7 separate regions of the Homo sapiens genome follow, and all the other regions are linked to region 6. Evidence: promoter capture Hi-C in human tissues and cell types (Jung and others, 2019). All regions are on one chromosome and are shown on one strand. Each heading gives the region's core, a stretch centred on a gene start or on the middle of the fragment in contact. The rest is flanking DNA. Distances are from core to core; before and after follow the strand shown.

Evidence for each region. Contacts are between HindIII fragments. The study calls those that stand out against the background at their distance.
Region 1: a contact is called between a fragment that was not itself captured here and the fragment with the promoter of PIEZO2 in region 6, in 2 of the 25 tissues and cell types used here (IMR-90 fibroblasts and aorta).
Region 2: a fragment that was not itself captured here is called in contact with the fragment with the promoter of PIEZO2 in region 6 in 2 of the 25 tissues and cell types used here (H1 embryonic stem cells and lymphoblastoid cells).
Region 3: a contact is called between a fragment that was not itself captured here and the fragment with the promoter of PIEZO2 in region 6, in 2 of the 25 tissues and cell types used here (mesenchymal stem cells and neural progenitor cells).
Region 4: a fragment that was not itself captured here is called in contact with the fragment with the promoter of PIEZO2 in region 6 in 4 of the 25 tissues and cell types used here (bladder, liver, lymphoblastoid cells and 1 more).
Region 5: a contact is called between a fragment that was not itself captured here and the fragment with the promoter of PIEZO2 in region 6, in 2 of the 25 tissues and cell types used here (H1 embryonic stem cells and aorta).
Region 7: a fragment that was not itself captured here is called in contact with the fragment with the promoter of PIEZO2 in region 6 in 3 of the 25 tissues and cell types used here (mesendoderm cells, spleen and thymus).

What each region holds. Positions count from the first base shown.
Region 1 is chr18:11,296,012-11,298,711 of GRCh38, forward strand. No RefSeq gene overlaps it. Among named protein-coding and RNA genes, the nearest start is that of PIEZO2, 150 kb to the left of the region's middle. The HindIII fragment of the contact is 3,450 bases long and covers 1-2,700 here.
Region 2 is chr18:11,364,771-11,367,470 of GRCh38, forward strand. LOC107985173 (a long non-coding RNA gene) reads right to left here. Exons shown (of 3, transcript XR_007066289.1): 3 at 2,335-2,677. Among named protein-coding and RNA genes, the nearest start is that of LINC01928, 88 kb to the right of the region's middle. The HindIII fragment of the contact is 7,204 bases long and covers 1-2,700 here.
Region 3 is chr18:10,973,661-10,976,360 of GRCh38, forward strand. The region is part of intron 3 of PIEZO2 (piezo type mechanosensitive ion channel component 2); the gene reads right to left. Among named protein-coding and RNA genes, the nearest start is that of PIEZO2, 170 kb to the right of the region's middle. The HindIII fragment of the contact is 6,453 bases long and covers 1-2,700 here.
Region 4 is chr18:10,997,369-11,000,068 of GRCh38, forward strand. The region is part of intron 2 of PIEZO2 (piezo type mechanosensitive ion channel component 2); the gene reads right to left. Among named protein-coding and RNA genes, the nearest start is that of PIEZO2, 150 kb to the right of the region's middle. The HindIII fragment of the contact is 4,541 bases long and covers 1-2,700 here.
Region 5 is chr18:11,279,180-11,281,879 of GRCh38, forward strand. No RefSeq gene overlaps it. Among named protein-coding and RNA genes, the nearest start is that of PIEZO2, 130 kb to the left of the region's middle. The HindIII fragment of the contact is 6,382 bases long and covers 1-2,700 here.
Region 6 is chr18:11,148,298-11,150,997 of GRCh38, forward strand. PIEZO2 (piezo type mechanosensitive ion channel component 2) reads right to left here and starts at 1,272. Exons shown (of 56, transcript NM_001378183.1): 1 at 228-1,272. The coding sequence starts at 291. It overlaps LOC124904249 (a long non-coding RNA gene), which reads right to left and starts at 219. Exons shown (of 2, transcript XR_007066288.1): 1 at 1-219. RefSeq lists an enhancer at 1-681 and silencers at 375-444, 455-634, 655-934, 1,175-1,624. The HindIII fragment of the contact is 6,242 bases long and covers 1-2,700 here.
Region 7 is chr18:11,384,178-11,386,877 of GRCh38, forward strand. The region is part of intron 1 of LOC107985173 (a long non-coding RNA gene); the gene reads right to left. All of the region lies in intron 1 of LOC124904250 (a long non-coding RNA gene), which reads right to left. Among named protein-coding and RNA genes, the nearest start is that of LINC01928, 69 kb to the right of the region's middle. The HindIII fragment of the contact is 8,830 bases long and covers 1-2,700 here.

The DNA.
Region 1 (2,700 bases), core at 31-2,530, 150 kb after region 6:
TTCAATCCATTAGATAGGAAAAAATTTATTCTTTTCCCAAAAGGGGAAAATGTGCTGAGAATTAGAAGACAAAATGGAATTATTAGATACAATAAATTTTTCAGAATCTGATCCTCTTAATTCAAAAATTGCAATTTATATTGCCATAGAGGACATTTAATTATTGAATGATGAAGAATTACAAAAACTGCTAAAGACAGAACCTGATCAACTGTGGTCAAAGTCTTCCACAGATATTGGAAAAACTATCTAACTTACCTCAATCAAAATTCAAATAGACTCATTAAAACCCCTTCCAAACCTTAAACAAGACTCTAAAACCAGAAGCTTTAGAAAGAATAAGACCTATAATTAGAATGTAATTATTATAGACTAAGTCTATAATTCTAGACTATGTAAAAAGAGATCTGATTATTCCCTGTACAAGCCCATGTAATACTGCAATCTTTCCCATAAGAAAACCAAGTGATAGAGAATAGATGTTTGTAGAGGATCTGAGAGAAATTAACAACATGGACATTTCTCATCATCTAGTAGTGCCAAACCTCCATATAACTTTGATTACCATCCTTACCAAAAGTGAGTTCTTTACTATAATAGGCCTATGTAGTGCATTCTTTAGTATTTACGTGGATCAAGACATTCAATTTATCTTCACCTTCACTTAGGAAGACAGACAATACGTATGGACAGTCATGCCTCAGGGATACACTGAGAGCTCAACTTACTTTACACAAATATTAAAAGCAGATCTCTCAGATATTGACTATATTAAGAAATATATTTTAATGCAATGTGTAGATAATTTGCTTGTCTGTTCAGAGGGTAGGCAAGCCTCCATGGAAGATGGGATTAACTTATTACTACAATTAGCCTTAAAGAAACACAAGGTCTCAAAAAAAAAAACATTCACTTTTGTCAAAAACAAGTAAGATTTTTGAGTAATCTAACATCAAAGGAAGATATTTTTATCCACCTGGATAGGATAAAAGAAATCTTGGCATTCCTTACTCCCAAAAGTAAGAAACAACTCAGAGGATTTGGGGGACTGGCAGAATACTGTTGAAATTGGATTCCAAACTTTTTTTTAAACTAAAACTTTCTATACTTTTATAAAACAAGACAAGCCAGGCCCCTTGGAATGGACAGAGGAAAATCAGTCAATATTGGAAGAAATTTAAAAAGAACTTTATAGATGCTGCATCTTTGGGATATCCAAATTATAATATTCCATTTTCATTGTTTGTTCATGAAAATCAAGGAAACGCCTTAAACATTCTGAAACAAAAACATGGAGACCAAAATAGGCCTGTAGGATACTAGTCAGCAACTACACCTTGTGGCTAAAGGATTGCCACCTTGCATGAAGGCAATAACTGCCACTGCTCTGTTAGTAAGAGCAACCGAAGAAAGAGTGATGGATCTCCCCTCTTGGTTTTCATGCCAAATTCTTTGCAAGTATTTCTAAATTCATAGCACACTCAACATTATTCTGTCAGCAGATTAGCTTCTTAGGAAGTTCTTTTTCTTTCTGTAGCTCATATTACAATATCTAGGTGCAAAAATCTAAACCCCCTGCTCCTCTGTCTCTGCCTTCAGATGAGATACCACACAATTGCATAATCTCAACTCACCAGGTTCTCTCTCCTAGAACAGACCTACAAGAAGCTTGCCTTACTCTTACTTAAAAGATGAACCTGGGACTTACTTTTCGGATTATGCTATATTATCTTTAACTAAAGAAAGTGCTTACCTTCCAGAAGCCACCTCAGCTTATCAAGCAGAATTGATAACATTAATCAGAGCCTACCAGTTGGCAACTACAAATATTCATATAGATGGCAGATATGCTTTCAGAGGAGCTCATGATTTTGGAATGCTATGGAAACGAAGAGGTTTTTTTTAACTTCTTGTGGTCAGTCCATAAAAAATGAACACCTTATTTCACCATCACTAGAAGCCATATTAAAATTCACTGGCCATTATTAAAATTCCGAGTCATTCCAAATCAGATACTGCAGAAAATAAAAGAAACAAGTTAGCTGATAAGGTAGCAAAAATGGCTGCTCTAAACGTATCTGAACAAGAAAAGGAATCTACATTAAGTCTCAAAGAAGCACCTGAATTTGGAATAAAATTAGCTCAATCCAGAGCTCCAAAATCCAAACAGAAAATTAGAAGACAAAAGGAGGAACATATTCTCCCAAAGATGAAGTATGGTATGGACCAAACAACTTATCTATACTTCCTACTGGAGATCATCATTTTTAACCTATGTACATGATTTAACTCATTGGAGCCCTGAAAAAATAGTTGCTTGAGAAAATGTTTTTCTCCAACTATAGTTCATAAGGTATACAATTGCTGCCATATCTGCCGAAAAGATAATCCAGGAAAACCTTTACATGGCTCCTAAGGACATTTTGCTTTACCTGATGGTGTTTTGAAGCATGGCAGTTACATTTTTTAAAAAACTTTTTAATTTTTCCTAATAGGTTTTTGGGGAACAGGTGGTGTTTGATTACATGAATATGTTCTTTAGTGCTGATTTCTGAGATTTTGGTGCATCTATCATCACCCAAGCAGTGTACACTGTACCCAATGTGTAGTCTTTTACCCCTAATCACCCCCACCCTTTCCCCAAAGTCCAACGTATCATTCTTATGGATGGCAGTTAGATTTTATTCAGCTGCCTTCATC
Region 2 (2,700 bases), core at 52-2,551, 220 kb after region 6:
GTGCTTCCAATTCAGTTTCACCCCTTTAGTTTTGTTTTTTGTTTTTTTGAGACAATCTTGCTCTGTCCTGTTGCCTAGGCTGGAGTTCAGTGGCTCAATCTTGGCTCACTGCAACCTCCGCCTCCCACGTTCAAGCAATTCTCCTGTCTCAGCCACCCGAGTAGCTAGGATTACAGGCACGCACCACCACACCCAGCTGATTTTTTTGTATTTTTAGTAGAGAAGGGGTTTCACCATGTAGGCCAGGCTGGTCTCGAACTCCTGACCTCAAGTGATCCACCCGCCTCAGCCATCCAAAGTGCTGGGACCGGCCAGTTTCACCTCCTTGAAATGTAAACACCTATGAAGATAACTCTCTAAATCCCTCAGGTGATCTCAAGGTTATTCAGTCTGTCTTTCCAGTTTCCCAGGCCCCACCCGGGCATGCAAACTTCTTCCCACTCAGGGAAATAGAAGAACTTTTGTCTTGGATTTCTACTTAGTCTCCATTAAAGAAGAAAAATAAATTAAAATTTTTTAATTAAAAAAACACTTTTGTTTTCCTTTAGATGGAAGGGAATTAGTTCCAACTAAAAGAAGACAAATAACCGCAGTTTAATACTCAAGACGTGCAAAAAGTAAAATATTTGGGGGGAAAGGAAAACATTCTCTAGCTTCATATTATATCCATTTCAGTGGTTCAGGGAACCAGAATTTTGCAGGAATAAAAGAAATCCAGGAAAGATTTATTTCTTCGTGCATGTATTTTAAGGCTATAAAATTCCCTCTATTGAATGATTTATGTATATTTCACAAATATTCCCTTGGAATTTACATTTTCTTCTAAATATTTTCTAATATTTCTTGTGATTTCTTTTTCCTTTTTTCCCTTTTTTTTTAAATTTTTTTTGAATTATTTTATGTATGTTTCTTAGTTTCCAAACATTCTGAGGGCAGGCGCCGGCCACCCTGTAAACCTGTAAAAGCATACAGGTTTACCTGTTTCTTTGGATCTTCATTTTCTTGTGAAGGTTCCTATATCCAATGAAACTTTTATTAAACAAATTTGTGTGTTTATCTCTTGTTAATCTTTCCGTTATTAGGGAGGCCTCAGGCATAAACCTAGCAATCACTGAGAAAAAAATATTTTTTTATCCCCTACAGTGATAAAATATATAGATATATATAATAAAATGTGCTATGTTAAGCATTTTTATGTGTACATTTCACAGTTCAGTGGCATCCATAAGGTTTTATATCATCTGTTAGTTTCAGGCTTATACATGTACCAAATCAACATTATTATGTTGCCTAAATCTTCTAAATTCCCATTAACTTTTTTGCTGCCTTTTCTACCCATGATTGAAAGAGGTGCAAGTTCTCTCATAATTTTGTAATTTTTTTCTAGCAGTTTTGTAGTTTTATACCATATACTTTGACCATATACCATATACTTTGACATGATGTTGTAAGATTTATAATTATTTTATTCTCCCAGCATCTCATCTATCTTTATCTTATCAATACATAAATATCCTAATTAGCCATACACATTTTTGCCTTAAAATGTATTCCATTCTATGTGATTTTATTACGAGGATCAAGCTGAGTGGCCTAAGGACAAGGCATTTCGAGTAGATGGGACAGGATCAGATTTATTTTCCTTTCAGTGGATGGTCATGTGAAAATAGCTATAAACCTCATGGGTGAAGAGGAAATTCTGTGGGATGAAAAACAAAGGCAAATTTGTATTTGGTTCAATTCTCTGCGGAATCACTTTGCCTTTCCTTCTCTGTGGTTGGTCAGCTTTCCTCAAAGATCCCAGCATGCTGCTACTCTGTGTGACTCTGAGTCATCCACTTTTAAGTGACCTGGGCATCTGGCACTTTAGGACACCCGATATCTTTTGCTTCTGTCTTTCATATCTGTGCTATTTTCAGCCTCAGCAGAGTTTTATATACAACTCGTTCTCTCAGGCATGACTCCCCTAAGCCAGCTAGTGCCTTGTTTTGCGTCTTGTACATGCAGGTCTGGAGTGGAAACTGTGCTCCTTCAGATGGCACATTTTATTTGAAAGCAGTTGGCATTCACTGAGATGCACCCACACAATATTCCCAGGAAGGATGGAAAGCCCTGCTACTTGTATTTATTTTGTTTGAATTACAACAAAAACAAACTTGGATATTGAGTAACTGGGCCTTGATGGTGACAGCAATGAGAATGAATGCAAATCACTGTGAAATACCTTACACCCACATCTTGATGGCCACTTTTAAAGAACAAACTAAAAAGCTGAACTCATACCAACATTGCCCCAATCCTTATCTGTCAAACACCTTTTGTCTATCTTACATATGAAAGAAAAAAAAAACAAACAGCTGTTTATTTCAGTCAAATAAAATGTTACATGCTATTCCCCGTTTCAGCCTCTACCACTTTGCCCAACAAAAAGATGCCCAAGGTTTCTCTAGGGCAGTTCACAATGGCTTCTGCTTCCTTTGCCCGCCTCACTCCTATTCTCTCTTTCAAGCACGTTTCAGTAGATCACATTTTGAAGAGGTTGCTTGTGATTCTGAAAGCTGTCCAGTTCCATAAAATATACCCTCTTCATGTCACAGGTGATGGCCACCATTTGGCTTCTTTGGATCTAATGAGATGAGTATCAACTTCTGCCCCTCCATCTGTTTCCTGCATCAACCTTAAATAATAATATTCAGAAAA
Region 3 (2,700 bases), core at 69-2,568, 170 kb before region 6:
AGGAGAGAAGAAGGCTGTGTGTTGTGCCTGAATGAGTTAGGGAATGGAAAGAGAAGGGGACGGGGCAAGGTGAGGAACCCAAGCCTCCTCACTGATCAGCTATCAGAAGAAAGCAGGCAGCCAAGAGTGGTTTCAAAAAATGACTCAGAACATGCAGGGTGTGAGTTTGCTTTTATATATTTTGTCTCCCATTTCGTACTTATTAGCTCTTTTCTCCAGGGTACTGTCTCAAATATGAAAAATTAACATCAAGAATTTCATTTGTGTGAGAATGGAATTATTTGTATGAGGATGGATCCACCAGGTGATTCTGCAGATCTAGGGTCCATCTCCAATTAGCACAACTAACGAAGCATGGGGTGAAGTTTACAGCTTTGTGTGCCAAGGGATGAGTCAGCACTTGTACTGGCAAGCAGAGTATACACAGCAGTGGCTCACTCTGTAGTCCTCCCCACAGTCGTCGGGATGGGAGGATAAACTGCCAGGCTGGGTCTGTCCCTCAGTCTTCTTGTCGTAGGCCGACGCTTGATACCTTGATTCTTGGCACTGGGAGCCTTGTGTGTTTCAAGGATAGAAGCATGTCAGGAAAAAACATTACTGAGGCCCATCCTAATTTCTTGGTTGGTGGGCTTCTGGACCAAGTTTCATGTGCTTGTAAAAAGAGAAAAGATGAAACTCTAGATGCCCCTCCTCCCACAGGGGGAAAGAGCAATGCATCTGAGGGGGCTAACCTTTGGGGGAAGCTGAATCCAACCAGGAATGCTGCCATTGAAGGAAGCAAAGAAAATATTCAGTTAATTATAAGGACAAATATCCAAGCAAGGGAAAGTCATGGACTAAGTATCAGAAACGCTAATTTTAGCCCTTTGAAAATAGACTTATCCAAAGTCCTAGGAGCCACAGTGGAGGAAACAATCTTACACACACGATGAATAAAGAGCTCCGTAAAGATGGGGGAAGAATGGAAAGCCAGACAGATCCGTGCTCAGACTCCAGCTGAGACATGCAATGGTTTCATGCAACTCATTTGCCCTCTAGAGCCCGTTTCTTCATTGCAATCCCTACCTCAGCACTATCTGCAGGTTGGGCACTGCGTTTATACAGAAAAAGGGCACCCTCTTGGAGAAAAGAGACTACACAAAGGCATAGCCCTCCGTGGCAAGGTTTGGCCAGGAGACCAGCCTCTTGATGTAAATCAGAGGATTTCGCTGCTTCCCGCTGGATGGAGCCTGACGAAGGAATCTCCTGCTCAGCTCCTCCTCAGGCTGGGGCCTGCACACAGAGCACAGGGGTCCAGCTGCACAGCCCTGTCCACCCTGAGGACTTGTTTAGAGAATGAATAGGACAATGCTTGGATACAGAGAGTGCCTAACTTAAAGAACAGCAAAGCTCACCTGGAACAAGAAAGGAAGGAGTCATTAATTGAAAAAGGAATAGAATAATCCCTAGGGTCTCATGGTTCATAGATGCTCTATAAACAGGAGATATTATCATCACAAATTTTCCCTATATAGTTTCTAACTCAAAAGTTTCTTTCAATGAATAGCATGCTTTAAGCACAGCACAAGAATCCAGACTGGCCTTCAAATTTCACTAACATCGCCACACATCTAACACGGAGTCAAACAAACTACGTCTATGTAATCTGTAATGACATAATTGAAACCGGGTTTACATTTATTTAAGTAGCATAGTTTTGGTGGAATGAAAATATTTTAGTAAGCGGCACAACATATGTTTGAGCAAAATTTACATAGGTGTCCCCTGCCCCCATGGACTCCTCACTTACCTATAAGAACACTGTTCTGGAAATGAGGGGAAAAAAAAAAGGCAGAAGGGAGTGTTGTTAAGTTTCAGCTCTGCACAACGGCACCTTTAACAGACCTGCCAACTAGTCAAAATCTAAATAGGGTGGTTTGAAAAAATCTTTATTACTGCCAGTTAATATTCACAGGACTCTGGAGGAACGAGAACTTTCAATGACTCAATATTTATAAATGCTACTGTTGTCCCACCAAAACTTATGTCAGATTCCTAAGAGATGCCGGGACCTTTTGCGATAATGAGGGTGAGGGTATGCATTTTAAATGGGGGAAAGAAGTTGTTAGGAAAACAAAATTTAACACCTATAAATGAGCGCTTGGTGGTCTTGAATTTGAATACTACTTGAATATGATCGACTTGTCTGGGTTTTAATTTTAATTTACCAATGTCTTGAACATACAAAAAACATTCAAAATGTACAACACTGATGACCAAGACAGGTTTTGTCTTTTTATTTGAACTTTTGCTATGTTATCTATGCAGATGCCAAAAAAGGATAAACTTCAAATTTGGGATATCGAAATGACTGAGTTGTGTTTACATCTCTGATGGTATAATCATAACTCTAAATGCTTGAGAAACAATAACATTAGTGAAGTGAAGTCAACTCTAAATTAAAAGTCAGTGTTTCCATTACCCACACTAACAGTATTTTCAGTTTATATAACTTGATCATTAAAAAGTGCTCTGGGCTGAAAACCTGGTCTGTGTCAATCTTGGACTAAATTAGTTTGCAAAGCTCTGAAGTTTGTTTGTTCTTCTCTTTTATCCTTTTTCAAGAATGTATTAATTTTAAATGCTACACATAAAACTAAACCAAAAAAATCTACAACACCTGATGAGCCAATGCGATTACAGGCATCACTAGTTTTTCAG
Region 4 (2,700 bases), core at 155-2,654, 150 kb before region 6:
TTGATAAACAAAGAACCAGGAAAATCTGATCAATTATCAATAGAAAAGACAATCAACAGATGCCAACCCTGTAATTACACAACTGTTGAAGTTATTAGAAAATGATTTTAAACCAACCATTATAACCAGGCTCCATGATGTAAAAGTAAACCATGTTGAAATAAATATAAAGATAAACATTATCAGCAGAGAAATACAAACTACAAAAATTAATCAAATAAAAATATTAACAACAGAAAAAATACAACACTGTATCTGAAATTAAACATTCACCTAATGGTCTCAAGAGCAGAGTGGTAATGACAAAAAATGAGTTAGTAATGATGAAGAAATTAATAGAAATTACCCCATCTGAAGAACAGAGAGCAAAAGATTGAAAAAAGTTAATAAAACCTCAGAGACTTAAGGGACAAAATAAAAAGGTCTATCATTTGCATCATTAGAGTTATCAAAGGAGAGCAGAAAGATTGGTTCAGAAAAAAATTTGGATAATACAGTATTTTAACATTCCAGAAATTTGGTGAAGACATAATGTACACATTCAATAAGCTCAGCAAATCCTAAGTAGGATGAGCTCAAAGAAACCACTCCCAGATACATAACTAACCTGTTGAAAAACTAATATAACTAAAGAATGAAAACAGAGAAAAATGTCACATTATGTGTAGGGAGAAAACAATTTAAAGACCACATATTTTTCATCACAAACTATGAAGACTAGCATACAGTGGAACAATATCTTTAAATCTGCAAAAGAAAAGAATTATAAACTTAGAATTTTATACCCTGTGAAACTGTCCTTCAGGAATGAGGCAAAAAGAAAATATCCTCAGAGGAAGGAAAATTAACCTGCTATCAAAGCAATGCTAATGTAAGTTCTTCAGCCTGAAGGGAAATGGTACCAAAAAAACACGTGGAATTCATGAAATGAAGAAGAGCAACAGAAATGGATTAAAAAGATATTTGTTTACACACACACACATACACATACACACACACACACACACACACTCCTTAATTACAGTCTTGCTCCAGTTAATTCATGGAATTTCTAGAAAAAAATCTCTCTTTTTTGGATTTGGAAATACTTGGTGTGTACAGAAATAATTGAGGGTATTATGTTGCCCACGTGTTTTAACTAGGCACCTTCATTTATATAAGAAATATGAGTATATTTAAATCTGAATAATTCAAAGATGTGTCACCTAATAAATATCCACTCATAACTCATGCTAACTCCAAAATTATTTCCAAAAGTAACCCAGACAATAGATTTGCAAAATAAGTAATCTATGGCTATAATGGCATAATACCAAACTATACACTTATATACTATTTTTTCTGTGATTATTAGAATGCCAACAGAATAAATTTGATGTTAATATTAACTGAGAAAATTAACAATAAGGAAAGGAAGTAGAGTTTTTAAACAAATTTTAGCATGTTTTATTCATACATTTTATTTATTTCTGATATATTTTCTCAAATACAGCAAAAAAAAAAAAAAAAAAGAAAGATTGTCACTGCGTAGATTCCAGTCAGGAACTGGGATTTAAACAAACATTTAAATCTAATGCCTCATTTACTCTACTTCTGAAAGTAATTCAGAGGCTATTTCCTTAGCCAACATTTCCCATTCTGTAGCTTTCAATGATTTAAATGTGGCATGCAAATGTGGAGGATCCATGGTTCTTTGGAGTGTGCCAATTTTTGTAAACTAAGTTTGAAATTTTCCACTTAAGAAACAATCCACGCCAAAAAATGTCAGAAATTTTTAAAGGAGAACTCTGAGCCTCCTCAGTGGAAAGGCAACAGCAAAAAAAAAAAAAAAAATCAGTTTATAGATAAGTTAATGTATTGGATACCAAATCTGCGTAGAGTTTGAAGAGTTCTGTATTTCAAAGTCTTCTTCAGCTCACCTCCAAGTTGATATTTTGATCTTTTATTTACAGCTCAATTAGAAAAACCTAGTAAAAGCACAGTTGGTCCTCCATATCTGTGGACTCCATATCCAGTAGATTCAACCAACCATGGATGAAAAATATATTTTTTAGAAAGATGTTTTAGTCTGTGCTGAACATTCACAGACCTTTTCTTTTCTTGTCCTTATTCTCTAAAAGAGATAGTATGACAACCATTTGCATTGTATTTATATAGTTTTTTGTAATATAAATAATCTAGAGATTATTTAAAACATATGGGAGAACGAGCATGGGTTATAAGCAAATATTATGCCATTTTATATAAGACACTTGAGCACCCAAGGATTTCAGCATCTTGGGGGATACTGGAAGCAATCACCCATGAATACTAAGAGACAACTGTACTCTGCAGTTCATGCACTTGGACTACATTAGAAAAAATTTAGAAAAATTGTCTTAGAAAGCAAGTATTTATATTTAAAGAATTTCCCACAATTTTATGCTCCAGGTGGAACAAATAAAAAGCAAATTGATACATAAAACTGGGAATTTTCTTCTAAATTCTAAATGAGATTAAATACAAACACCTATGAGCTGGGAAGAATGTGCTGGGACTTCGAAATAAACTCAGAAGTCAACCTTGTAGGTTAAGTACATGAAGTTGCTAATACCTAACCATGTTGACTTATAAAAATGGCCATTTCACTGGTATCAAACTAATACAAATGAAGAGAAGGAACACATGTCTACTTTCTATTCCATTGGAAATCTCATTCAA
Region 5 (2,700 bases), core at 60-2,559, 130 kb after region 6:
TCCAGATAGAAGAAAGCTTTGAACAACTGGGGAGGCAAAAGTCAAGCTACATTTTTTTCTTAATAATGTTGTTATGTGGTACTGTGCCTGGTACCCCAAGTTAATCTGATTATTCCCAGGAATGTTGCCTTTCAATGAATGTTATCTCAGAGCCACCTGCTCACAGTGGTGCACGTTCTAATTCTTGGCCCTTGAGCAAAAATTTCAGAAAGAGTCATCATGCCCTCTATGAATGACAAAATAAAAAGCTCTCAAAAGGAGATCCCTTCCTTCCTCACTTTGGTGTGCTGGACTCCTTGGGCAATATCTGTGCCCATAATTCTCTTTGAATACTTTAGCCAGCATGCAGACTCCTTACCTGCATAGTAACTCCCAGCTCATTTTCTCTCTCTTCTTGGCCCCTGTGACCTCCTGCGGTTAAGCAGCCCACAGACCCTTGGACCGCAGAGTGCAGGCATCATCAGCTCCACTTGACTGCCAATGCCTTCCAGGAACCAAGGTCAGGTCAAGCTTCCTTGGCATACAGCCCACATCTCTGCAGCAGCTGAGAGGCTTGGGCTTTCCTCTCCTGGAACTGGGGCCAAGTCTCTTATTGAAGCATCTTGTAGGCAGAACTCCATTAATTGTACGAAGACAGGGAGGGAGATGCTCTGATTAGGCCATTCTTACATTGCTGGAAAGAAACACCTGAGACTGGGTAATTTATAAAGAAAAGAGGTTTAATTGGCTCATGGCTTTTCAGATTTTACAGGAAGCGTGACATTGGCATCTGCCTGGTTTCTAGGGAGGCCTCAGGAAGCTTGCAATCATGGCGGAAGATGAAGCGGGAGCAGGCGTGTTACATGATGAAAGCAGAAGCAAGTGAGAGACTGGGAGGGAGGCACCACACACTTTTAAATGACCAGATCTGGTGAGAAGGCACTCACTGTCGTGAAGACAGCACCAAGCCATGAGGGATCTGCCCCATGATCCAAACACCTCCCACCAAGCCCTACCTCCAGCACTGGGGATCACAATTCAACATGAGATTTGGGTGGGGACAAATATCCAAACTATATCAGAAGGGCTGTGCTATCTTGGGAAAGCTACCATCCAGATTTCTTAGCTTTTCTTAATGTCCAGGAAAACCAAACTGGCAGAATCTAGTGAGAGAGACGTGTATAATTGGCTGCACTGGGCACTTTCTTTATTCATGTGCTGTTTTGGGGGAAGTCAGCTATAAAGAAGAAGCACAGAACTTAATGAAAATAAAGGCATCCATGCTCCTCTCTATGACTGTCACAGCAACGTTTCAGCTGCCCTGCGACTCTGTTCCAGGGTCGCCGTGATGGAAGAGCAGGGTGGGGGCCAGTGAGCAGGGTCTCAGTCGCCCCTGGCCACTCTCATGGCTGCTTCCCCACCCCCACGCAGATGCTTTCTGCCTGACTTTCTTGAGTATGAAAAGCCTTGAGGCTTGGGCCCTTTCGGTTCCTGGCTTTCCCCCATTCCTGCAGCCTTCAGGTGGATTTGCAGACGGTCCTCTTCACCCTCTACCTACTCCATCATCCTTGCCTCCACACCCTTGATACCAGCACATTCCCAGTCCCCAGTGGTGCTGGACACTTCCCTTGTGGGAGTGACTTAGGAGTGGCCTTCCAGAGGGTGGGAGCAATTTTAGGAAAGAGGTCTTAAAACTGCATCTGCAGAGGAAGTGCGGGGTCTTACATAGAGGGAAGGATGGGTGAGGGTATTGAGGAGGATCTCTGGTCACCCCAGAACAATGCAGCTATCTTTGAGCTCCCCCTCCTTGCAAACACTCTCACACACTTGGTGAGATGTGGTTCTCACGTGGTCCATATTCCTGTGGGATTCCTGCCTGAACAGCAGGCTGAGGCCTCTAATTCCTAATGTGTACCCTAATAGCCAGCCCACCCAAATTCCTTCCTGGCCCATCTCCCCAGCTGGGGTGAATCTGGGTCCTGAACCGGTACAGTCAGCTGAGAGAAGTTTTGATTGATTGCTTTATTCCATTCACTCACTCCCTCAGCAGTAACCTGTTAATTTTTTTCCTTAGGTGAGGTGCTGGGGATACTAAAATGAACAGGCAAAATCCTTTCCCTTCCTCGAGGAACCAACAGTGCAACTGAGGAGAGCTAAGTAAACAGTTCTGATGGAGGGAGACACATGCTCTGATAGAGGTGGTCAGAGGGTGTTGGGGGACCCAAGGGGAGAAGCCAGACTCAGCTTTGGAGACTCGGGGAAGAATTTCCAAAGCTGCTGGTTTTCTGGACAAGGTCCCATTAACTCCCATCCCAAAGGTGGGATCTTTCTTCTAGTACCTCTCAGCGCCCTGCTTCATCTCTTAAGCATCCAATTCTGACATGAAATAGAACATTGCTGCTATTGGCTGAATGTTCGTGACTGCAACATCTATACATTGAAACCCTACACCTTCTGGAGGTGAGGTCTTTGGAAGGTGATTAGGATTAGCTGAGGTCATGTGAGCTGAGCCCCCATGAATGGGATCAGTGCCCTTATAAGCATCCTGAGAGAGCTTGCTTCACTCCGCTCTCCACCATGTGAGGACACTGGGACAGGGCAGCCACCTGCAACTCGGAAAAGGGCCACACAGAACCCACCATGCAGGTACTCTGGTCTCAGACTTCCAGCCTCCAGAACTGTCAGAAATGAATTTGTGCTATTTATAAGCCACCCAGGCAA
Region 6 (2,700 bases), core at 22-2,521:
CAGCACATGCCCGTCCCGAGCATCCTGTTAAGAGATACCCCGATCGCGCGCCCCAGAGTGGGAAGTGAGAGAGCCAGGCTGTGCACCAGGGACAGCGCGCGTCTGACGCCGCTGGCCTCCCGAATCGAACCCCAGAGCACCAGAGCCCTTCACTTTGTTAAGAAGTCCCCCACCCAGGCGCCCCCCTCGTCCTCCTCAAGTGCCCTCGGAAAGCGGACCAGACTCACCTACTGCCAGGCAGATGGGCAGCAGCAGCCTGAAGATGAGCCCGCACACCACTTCTGAGGCCATCGCGTCGGTCCGGCGAGTCGGAGCAGAGGGGCGAGGCTCGAGGGTCCCTAGGGGTGGTGGGACGCAAGGCCCATGCCCGTCTATGGCCTCTCGCCGCCGGCAGCTCGCAGCCACCCGAGCATCGCCTCGGCGCGGGCCGCGACGCTCTCCGCCCCGAGGGCACGCTCCCGGGGCTCTTGGCCGCCCCTCGCCCACCGGGCTCTGGGTAGCCCCTCACCAGGCTCTTGGCGGCCACCTAGCCCGGCGCCCGGCCCCCTGCGGCCGGCCCATTTAGTGTGAATCCTGGATCCGGCAGCGGCGGCGGCTTCTTCAGGGGTAGCTGATGCCGGGGCCTTGGAGAGGGACGCTTTGGGAGGGTCCTGGGAGGCGGCGCGGCGAGCAAAGGGGGCAAGAAGGGCGTGCTGTGCTCCCGCCTGGCTCCCGGGGCGTCGTTTGGGGGCGGCCGGGGAGTTTTCTACTTGGAAGCCCCTCTGAAGCCACCGCGTCTCCTTTGCCCGGCCTCGTCTCCGCTGCCCACGCAGGCTGCCGCGCTCTGGCCTCGGCCCCGGCTCTCGGAGCTGCCCGGCGGGCTCCGGGTCTCGCCCTCCAGCCCCCAGGCGGCCCGCGGCGGATCCCCGAGAGGCAGCGCAGCTCAGCCCCTGCGCCCCCCAGCTTCGGGCCGGAGAGACCGGGGTGGGAGCTGCCAGGCGCGCAGAACCATCCCCGCCACCACGGGGCTCGCCTTGTGGGTCCGGTGCGCGGGCGGCGCTGCGAGTCCCTCCCTCACTCGAAGGAACGGCGCGAGCGTGGGGAGAAATGGAGACCAGAGCGCATATCGGGTGAGTGGGTCTCCCACTCCCTCCTCCACCGCCTCAATTTAAAACTCAAGAGAAAAACCAGCGCCGTCCCGTCGCCCAGCGCGACCACCGCCTGCCGCCTTGCAGCCTCGCCCTCGCGGCGCAGCCGGGGCTCCCCGGCGGCGCGCGCTTCTCCACCTTCAATGAAACTTTCGAAGCCCTCACTCGGGGACGGGCGTGTCCCCCGGCCAATGGGATGGCGGCTCCGGGGCCTGCGCGCGCGGAGCCCGCCCCTGAGCGGCTGGGGAAGTGAGAGCCTTGCACCGGCGCGGAGGGCAAGCCCCCACCCGCGGCTCCCGCGCCTGGGAGAGACCCGGCCTGGCCTGCCAGTGGGCTGCGCGCCTTGGCTCGCCCTCCGCGGGCACTCCTGCCCCACTGGCTCCCGCAGCCCCGCGGCTCTGCGTGGTTCTGTCATTCCGGTGGTGCACCCTGGCATCCAGTCCACCCGGCCGGGCCCTGAGCTTGCCCAAACCCAGGGAACCGTTTAAGGTCCGAGGGAAACGCACAGGCCCGGCAGGAGAGAAGCCAGGGGCTTGGAGAGTCCTGTGCGACCCCGACTTCTGCTGGGTCCACAGGTGCACACTGGCATTAAGAAGAATAGAGCTGAATTCATCTACACCGTTGACCCTGCCCATATTTCACATAGCAAGAACTTGCCATTCTGAATAGACTCTGGGAAATCCCGGGTCTTCCCCAACAGATAATGCACCCACTTTGTGCATTTGGGGGAACTCTCCGTTTTCACCTCAGTTTTGCTCCTTGCTTGTCGTGGCTCTGGGGAAAGAGAGCGTTGGCACTGAGAATATTCTCCCTTTCTCCTAGTGCACTGCTTTTTGCCTGTTCTAGGCAAGATCTAGAGAAATCTGGCTCTAGCTGGGAGACTGCAGTGTGCCTGGGTCTTTTATTTAACTGTTATCCGAGAGTGGAGGAGATTTGCTAGAGCACAGTAGGGGTCTTTCCGGACATGGAGGAAGAGGCTGTTAGCATCTGTAGAGAGGACTGTTCAGGACTGGCATTCCATCAGGAGGACACACTGGGAAGGACCTGGCTTCCCTTCCGCACCTACATTCCTGGCTTGCATTAGTTGGAGGGGATAGAGCAGTGAGCTGATGAAAAACAGGCAAACCCCCGTCTTTTTAGCCATTTGAAACGCTTTTGTGGACATCCCTTTTTTGAGACAGGGTAAGCTTGTGGTTTGAGCTCAGGTGCCTTCACGAATTCTCTGAGAATTACAGAAAAACTATGAACCATTGCTTTTTGAATGAAGACTCAAGACAGTTGGCATATGGTGAAGACACCCTGAAACTTAAACCACCCATGTGCTCTGCCATCCTCAAGAAGCTTAGATAGCACCTAAACCCGGGCGTAGTCATGAGCTCAACAGCAGACCTACAGGAGACGATAGAACTTAAATTAGCATCCAGTCACCAAGAAATGCTATCAAGAAATGGTTTGTGTAGCCTGTTTGTAGAAGCCTGATATAAATCTACCACTAATTTTGATGTTCATAAGTCTGCCTTCACATCCATGCCCTCCCCACCTCACCCCATGTACGACTCATTCTTGGGAGCTA
Region 7 (2,700 bases), core at 123-2,622, 240 kb after region 6:
CATGGAACTTAGTGAGTCAACCAGGAAGTAGAGAAAGATGAAATAAGCAGTAATTTAGTATAGACAATATGAAAAATCACCAAAAAAAAATTTAATTGCATAGAGCCACATGGAGCTCTCAAGAGTTGAAAAGTTTCTGATTAAAGTTCGGAACTTTTGAAATTTTTCAACTGCTTTCCTGTTGGATGTCTACTACTTGCTTTTTAAAAAAATAATCTGGGCCAGGCGTGGTGGCTCACACCTGTAATCCCAGCACTTTGGGAGGCCAAGGTGGGTGGATCACAAGGTCAGGAGATTGAGACCATCCTGGCTAACGCAGTGAAACCCCATCTCTACTAAAAAATACAACAAATTAGCTGGGCGTGGTGGCAGGCGCCTGTAGTCCCAGCTACTCGGGAGGCTGAGGCAGGAGAATGGTGTGAACCCGGGAGGCGGAGCTTGCAGTGAGCCGAGATTGCGCTACTGCATTCCAGCCTGGGCGACAGAGCAAGACTCCATCTACAAAAAAATAAATAAATAAAATAAAAAATAATGATAATATGGCTGGGCGCGGTGGCTCACGCCTGTAATCCCAGGACTTTGGAATAAAATAAAACAAAAACAAAACAAAACAAAATTCCACTTTGGAAAACAATGAAGTAATAGAGGGCATCAATAACTTTCAGCTATAAAGAACACTACCCACAGCCTGGGGAAGACGCATTGCAAAGGCAAAATGAAATAATTCCTGGATCTCACACGTGGCCAGGAGGACCGTTTGCTCCCAACAGCCAGATTGGTACAGACCTCACAGTGCACAGAGTGAAAGGAAGAGGACTTAGAAGGACCTCACCTTGGCAGTGCCACCGAATTAGTCTTCCATTACAGGCTGTACTGCTATTGCCTAAGAAAGTTTAAGAGCAAACTGTAAAATAATCAGACTGTTTCCACGGAACGTAACTGTGCTCTAGAAAGTAACTCATATATATTTATAAGAATAAAAAAATTCCCAGAATTGGCAACATAAAATCACAATGTTGGGCATTCAGTCAAAAATTACCAGTTCTGCAAAGCATCAGGAAATAACCCATAATAAAGAAAATTATTAGCCAATAGAAATAGACCCAGAAATGATAACGATAACAATATTTGTAGACAAGGACATTTCCAGTCACTATGCCTTTCTTCTGTATGTTCAAGAAGGTGTAGGAAGGCATGAACATGTGAAGGAGGGACACAAAAGATATTTTAAAGCCCAGGTTGAACATCTGCAGAAAAATACATTTGACAGGACTATCAGCAGATTAGACATTGTATAATGAAAGAGCAATACATTAGAAAACGCAGCAATACACATGATCAGAAATAAACACAAGGGAGCTAGAGAAAAAGGGACAATGTAAAAAGGTATGCTATATCTGTAACTGGAGTGCCAGATGGAGCATAAAAACACACTTGAAAATCTGATGGTTAAAAATTATCCAAATGTAATGAAAATTATAAGCTTCCAGAACCAAGAACCTCGATGAGTGGCAAGCAAAATAACAAGGCATGAATTTTAAGAGAAAAGGACTGATAAATTTCATCAAGACTAAAAAAACTTTCTCTTCAAAAGACACTTTAGAAAATGAAAAGGTAAGCCACACACTGTGGGAAATATATGCTAAGTATGACTAAGTACTTCTATCTGGGAATACACAAAGAATATACAAATAACTTTTTAAATGGTAAAATCCAATTAAAAATATATATTTTAGCAGATACTTAATCAAAATATTATATAAATATGGCACACAACATGTACAAAGATGCTCAACATCATTAGTTATCACAGATGTGCACAGCAGAACTATAAAGAAGGGACCACTACACCAGGAGGTCTAACATTTTTAAAGGCCGATAATGCCAAATGTTGTCAAGATAACTGGAATGGTCACACAGTGTTGATGAAAATCAAAAATGGAAGGACTGTTTTGAAAAGGTTTGACAGTTTTATAAAAATAAAACATAAACTGGCTGGGCATGGTGGCTCATGCCTGTAATCCCAGCACTTTGGGAGGCTGAGGTGGGTGGATCACTTGAGGTCAGGAGTTCGAGACCAGCCTGGCCAACCTGGTGAGACCGCCATCTCTACTAAAAATACAAATATTAGCCGGGTGCGGTGGCAGGCACTTATAATCCCAAATACTCAGGAGGCTGAGGCAGGAGAATTGCTTGGACAGGGGGCAGGGGTTGCAGTGAGCTGAGATAGAGCCACTGCACTCCAGCCTGGGCAACAAGAGCAAGACTCTGTCTCAAATAAATAAATAAACAAACTACCATTAGATGCAGCAATTTCACTCCTAGATACTTATGCAAGAGGAATGTAAGCATATGTCCACATATACACTTTTACAGATATAATTATAGAAACTTTATTTGTAATAAGCAAACACTGGAAACAACCCAAATGTCTGTCAAGGGCTGAACTGTATCTACCCAAAGTGTGTATATTGAAGCTCTGGACCCCAATCCCTCAGAATGTGCCTATTTGGAAATAGGGCCTTTAAAAGGGTGATTAAGTTAAAATGAAGCTATTAGGCTGGTTCCTCCTCCAGAAGAGGACATTTGGATACACGAAGAGACATCAGCGATGCACACACAGAGAAAAGACCATGCAAAGACGTCTGAAAGCCGAGGAGAGCGGCCTCGGGAGAAACCAAACCTGCCAACACCTGCTAA